Regions from separate parts of the Homo sapiens genome. Here region 2 is linked to region 1. The links are contacts of gene promoters, found by promoter capture Hi-C in blood cells and fetal thymus (Javierre and others, 2016). All regions are on one chromosome and are shown on one strand. Each heading gives the region's core, a stretch centred on a gene start or on the middle of the fragment in contact. The rest is flanking DNA. Distances are from core to core; before and after follow the strand shown. Region 1 holds the start of RPUSD2 (RNA pseudouridine synthase domain containing 2). Region 2 holds the start of PPP1R14D (protein phosphatase 1 regulatory inhibitor subunit 14D).

What was found. The method cuts DNA at HindIII sites, captures the fragments that hold promoters and counts their contacts. A CHiCAGO score of 5 or more calls a contact.
Region 2: a contact is called between the fragment with the promoter of PPP1R14D here and the fragment with the promoter of RPUSD2 in region 1, in 4 of 17 cell types (M2 macrophages, endothelial precursors, M1 macrophages and 1 more). The highest score is 5.8, in M2 macrophages.

The regions. Positions count from the first base shown.
Region 1 is chr15:40,568,040-40,570,739 of GRCh38, reverse strand. It overlaps RPUSD2 (RNA pseudouridine synthase domain containing 2), which reads right to left and starts at 1,441. Exons shown (of 3, transcript NM_152260.3): 1 at 797-1,441. The coding sequence starts at 1,402. RefSeq lists enhancers at 810-859, 609-1,108, 1,170-1,499. The HindIII fragment of the contact is 4,663 bases long and covers 1-2,700 here.
Region 2 is chr15:40,827,303-40,830,002 of GRCh38, reverse strand. PPP1R14D (protein phosphatase 1 regulatory inhibitor subunit 14D) reads left to right here and starts at 1,295. Exons shown (of 4, transcript NM_017726.8): 1 at 1,295-1,616. The coding sequence starts at 1,362. The HindIII fragment of the contact is 4,675 bases long and covers 1-1,730 here.

The sequences.
Region 1 (2,700 bases), core at 192-2,691:
ATATTGACGCAAATCGATTGATCAATGGAACAAGTTACTCCAAAACCATCCATTCCCCAAATGCTGTAATCGCCTTTTCTCCACTCACAACCATGGTAAACTAGTGTTACTGAGAGGTAAACAGTGTTACTTCTGACAGGGGTGTCTGGTACCTCATAGATGTGATGGAATTTTAAAGGAGTCAAAGCACTGGGCTAAACAATTCTAGTCTCTATCCCTGACATCTCATAACTCTATGTTAAATAGTTTAAGTAGTAGTTATAGGAACATAGGCTTTGGTAGTGGCACTGTTGATAGCCTTACCCCTGTGAGTTTCCTTAGTTTCCTCAGAGGTAAAATGGAGTGGCAATACCTACTTCACAAGGCTGTCATTAGAATTAGTGGACATACAATGTTTAACTTTGTGCCCAGCACACAGTAAAGAGACATAAATGATAGCCCCTATTATTACTATTTGCACAGAGATCTACAACGCAGGGTAAAGTGATCAGTGCCCTTGCCACAAGACGGTGTTTAAAGGAATTATGAAAATTCCAACTTCTGTCCCTTGGAAACAAGGAAGCTGCCTTGAGGAAGAGGATAAACAGGCTGAGTCCTGAAGCACAGACACCCTGGCCACTTGCGGAGGTGGGAAACGGGCTAAAATAGTGTTCCAAATGAAAGCGAGAACGCTTTAGAATTGCCATGATTTTAATCCAGTACCTATGCTTTACTAAGACTAAAAAACAAAACAAAACAAAACAAAACCCGGCCCCTTTTCCTCGCCCGCTTCTGGCCAGCCCCATCAGGACTCCACCTTGAGCACGATGTTGAGGTCCTGCACCGGCTTCTCGTTGAGTTGCAGGCGGCCCGCCCGGACCGCGGCCTCATAGTAGGCCAGGGGCTGAGCTCGGAACTCGGTACTGAAGACGTGCAGCAAGCTGTGGCCCACCCAGCGACCTTTGCAGTAGGTCCGGAAGTCAAAGTAATAGGGCCGCACCTTACGCAGGCCGCCCTCGAAGTAATAACTGGTTTCTGCAAAGTGCTCATCTCCGAAGCTCACCCCGGTCCGCCGCTTCTTCGGGGGCGGCACGACACGCTCCCTGGTTGCGCCCCGCCGCTTCTTATGCTTGCCCGGGCCTGGGGCTGCAGCCGAGGGATGCTCCCCGCCTACTGGGGCCGGCTCCACTTCCCGGCCAGCCGGCTTCGGGGGCCCGGGGGACAGCTCAACCTTCGCGTCGCCACCAGCGTCACCGTTTTGCTGATGCGAAGCCCTCAGCCCGCCCTCTGTCCCAACCTGGGTAGACACTGTTTCTGCCATTGGGCCCTTATCGCCACTCCAAGTCCTGGTAAAGCTAGGGCGCCTAAGGTCGTAGCGCCAATGTCCAAGAACCCTGAGCCATCCGCGGCGGTCCAGCCACATAACCACGCTGCCCCCACTCCACTCCCAGGGTCGCGATCTGAGGACGTCACTCGGCCCCAGCGAATCAGGGAGGCCCAGTCCCGAGGCGGGGTCTGCGATAAGTGAGCGAATGAGTGAGCTGCTCGAATTAAATTAGGTGAATTGAGTGAGCTTAGAGATGAGAGACTGTAAATGTCTCACCAAAAGTGACCTTACTCAGACGTCTTCCTATTAGGGAGATACGACGTTATTTATAAAGGAAACCCTTGGAATTGCTCCGTGTAAAGGCCATGACAGGAGTAGGTCGTGTAAATTCCGAGTAGTCCCTTGGGTCTGAAGAAACGCTTGAAAGGAGCTTTATTTAAGACAAAACAAAAACTAACAACCAGAATAAAGATTGCTAAACTCTGCGAATATACTAAAACCCACTGTATTCTATATTTTAAAAGGGTCAATATTATAGTATGTGACTTGTATCTCAGTAAGATTGTTATATATGTATTTAAAACACACACAAGCACCCCAGAAGCAATGTGTTCACACCTGTGTTTCCCCCTAACAGCATGAGAAGGATTAGTGATCCCCATTCGCCTCCCACATGCTTCCATCCTGAGATTAAAACTGCAAATAGATCAGAGGATATATGGCGAGGGTTCTTAAGTGCAAAATAAACCAACTCTGGCTAATTTCATCAGAGATAGAATTATGGAAAGTATATTAGTGCCTCATAGAATTCACAAGACAACTGGAGACTAGGCTCAGAAAAAGGGCCAAATCAAGGGAAACCAAGCCTTTTGAGAGCCTGGCTTCAGACATGTCAGGGAAGAAACCCAGTTGGGATGCAGTAGACACAAGAAACTATGTTGTGCCAAAGGACTCTTTTTCCTGCAGCCCTGCCACCCCTTGGAGACCCCTAAATCTCCCTGTGTCTCTGTGTCCCTCTTCCAAGGTTAAGAGTCCTGCAGGGGAGGACTTCCATCAGCCAAACCTCATTGCTCTGAGCCCTCACTTCCAGGGTGCCTGGAGATGGAAGAATTTAACCCTCTTTTTTTTTTTTTTTTTTTTTTTTTTTGAGACGGAGTCTTGCTCTGTCGCCCAGGCTGGAGTGCAGTGGAGCGATTTCACCTCACTGCAACCTCCGCCTCCTGAGTTCAAGCCATTCTTCTGCCTCAGCCTCCTGAGTGGCTGGGACTACAGGCACGCACCACCACGCCTGGCTAATTTTTATATTATGAGTGCTGGGATTACAGGCGTAAGCCACCGCGCCCGGCCAAGAATCTAACCCTCTTTGGTATCCAGAGTGGGATTCTTCCAAATAA
Region 2 (2,700 bases), core at 46-2,545, 260 kb before region 1:
CATTTTGCCCAGGCTGGTCTTGAACTCCTGAGCTCAAGCAATCCACGCGCCTCGGCCTCCCAGAGTGCTGGGATTACAGGCGTGAGCCACCATGCCTGGCCCCATTTTAAAAAAATTACAGGCTGGGCACGGTGGCTCACTCCAGTAATCCCACCACTTTGGGAGGCCGAGGCGGGTGGATCATGAGGTCAGGCATTTGAGACCAGCCTGGGCAACATAGTGAAACCTCGTCTCTACTAAAAATACAAAAAATTATCCGGGCATGGTGGTGGGCGCCTGTAATCCCAGCTTCTTGGGAGGCTGAGGCAGGAGAATTGCTTGAACTTGGGAGGCGGATGTTGCAGTGAGCCAAGATCGCAGCATTGCCCCCCAGCCTGGGTGACAGTGCGAGACTCCATCTCAAAAAAAAAAAAAAAAAAATTACAGTGTTCTTCTGTCACTTTTTTTTTTTAAAGTTTAGAAATTTTCATTATAAAAGACTAAACAAAAATACCCTGCCTTAGAATGCAAGTATGTATGCCTGGAAGTATTAGTCCCTGACACCTGTGTATAAGTTAGGTTTGCAGGTTTCCTCTGTGTCAGCAAATACATGAATCGGGGGAGGGTCACGTGGTAATAAACATGGCTTCCTAAGCAGTTGCCTCAGGGGAGCGGGCATAGTAGACAAGTCTTGATAAATTTGCCTTTACAAGCAGGTAAACTGCCTTTATAGGCCAGGCTGATAGCAGTTTACATTCGGACACACCCAGACACTGGGGGCACTGGTCCTACGGGAGCCATCAATAACTGACCTCCAACTCTATCTACCAGCTGGGGCTCTGCCCCCAGTAGTGCTACGCTCTGAGTAAGAATCCCTGCCAGCCAGGGACCCTGCTTCTGCGGAATCTGACCACAGCTTCTCAGAGCCCAGAGTGGATCCAGCCCCAGGAAGGTGGGATACAGAGGGATCTCAGGTGAGAACGACTCAGGTCCCATTCCAGAGCTGGCCATAGAGCAGCGATTGGAGCCCTGTACCCTTCAGGACCCCAGGGCCCCTTCCTCCTCCCTGGGCATGGCAGCCTCTTGACCTTTGCTCATCTGCAGTTTATGCCACTTTGGGCCCTAGAAGCTGCAGAAAGGGAGGCTGGGGCATGGCTCTGGAGTGCCACTCACTGGCTGGCAGTGAGGAGCCAGGAGACTGGCATTCCCAGCACCAAAGTCCTATTGATCTTTGCCCTTGCCCCTCCCTGGGAGCCTTGGCCCTCCTCCTGCCTTCATTTCTTCTCTGCTGGCCTCTCCTGTTCTCTGTCTCCTCACTTCCCTCTGTGGCTCTGCTCAGAACTGGCGGTTTTTCCCAGCTCCTTGCCCAGACCAATACTTCCATGCTGTCTTCAAGCCCTGCTTCCTGCACATCTCCCAGCCCAGATGGGGAGAACCCATGTAAGAAGGTCCACTGGGCTTCTGGGAGGAGAAGGACATCATCCACAGACTCAGAGTCCAAGTCCCACCCGGACTCCTCCAAGATACCCAGGTCCCGGAGACCCAGCCGCCTGACAGTGAAGTATGACCGGGGCCAGCTCCAGCGCTGGCTGGAGATGGAGCAATGGGTGGATGCTCAAGTTCAGGAGCTCTTCCAGGTAGGTAGCACAGCGGATAGTGGGAGGAGATGGGGGCCTGGGGTCCACCCAGGGCACTGAGACCTTCACAGGAGCTGGAGGGCTGATGTGAGGTGCTTCCGTGAAGAGAAAGCTTTTGTAACTGATGAAAGAAAGAAGCATCGGTTTGAAGTCCAGAAGTCTGCCTCCCTCTAGGCTTGTCTGTGCCTCTAATGCTCTTTGTGATCTGGGGAAGGTCTTTTAACATCCCTAATCTATAATAGGGCTGTTAGTGCCTGTCATATCTCCTTTATAGGACTTTCTGAGGCTCAAATGAGACAATAGAAGGGAAAATGCTTGGTCACACTATGTTTCAAAATTTTATATCTTTATTTACTCCCATGTTCAATGCACATACATGTCCGGAGCTACATTTTCGTTTCTTTTCTTTTTCTTTGTTTCTTTCTTTCTTTCTTTCTTTTGTTTTTTGTTTGTTTGTTTGTTTTTGAGACAAAGTCTTGCCCTGTTGCACAGGCTGGAATGCAGTAGTGCAATCTCAGCTCACTGCTCTGCCTGCTGGGTTCAAGCCATCCTCCCACTTCAGCCTCCTGAGTAGCTGGGACTACAGGTGCGCACCACCACGCCTGGCAAATTTTTTTGTATTTTTTTTTGTAGAGACGGCTTTTCACCATGTTGCCCAGGCTGGTCTTGAACTCCTTGGCTCAAACAGTCTGCCTGCCTCGGCCTCTCAAAGTGCTGGGATTACAGGTGTGCACCACCATGCCCAGCCTAGAGCTACATTTTCCAATTCTGTAGCCATCAGCCATGTGTAGCTGTTTGACTTTAAATGAGTTATAATTAAATAAAATTATTCAGTTCCCCAGTCACATGGGCCACATTTCTTTTTTCTTTTGCCTTTTTTTGAGACAGTCTTACTCTGTAAACCAGCCTGGAGTGCAATGCCGTGATTTTGGCTCACTGCAACCTCCGCCTCCCAAGTTCAAGCGATTCTCCTGCCTCAGCCTCCCGAGTAGCTGGGATTACAGGCATGCGCCACTGTGCCCGACTAATTTTGTATTTTTAGTAGAGACGGGGTTTCTCCATGTTGGTCAGGCTGGTCTCGAAC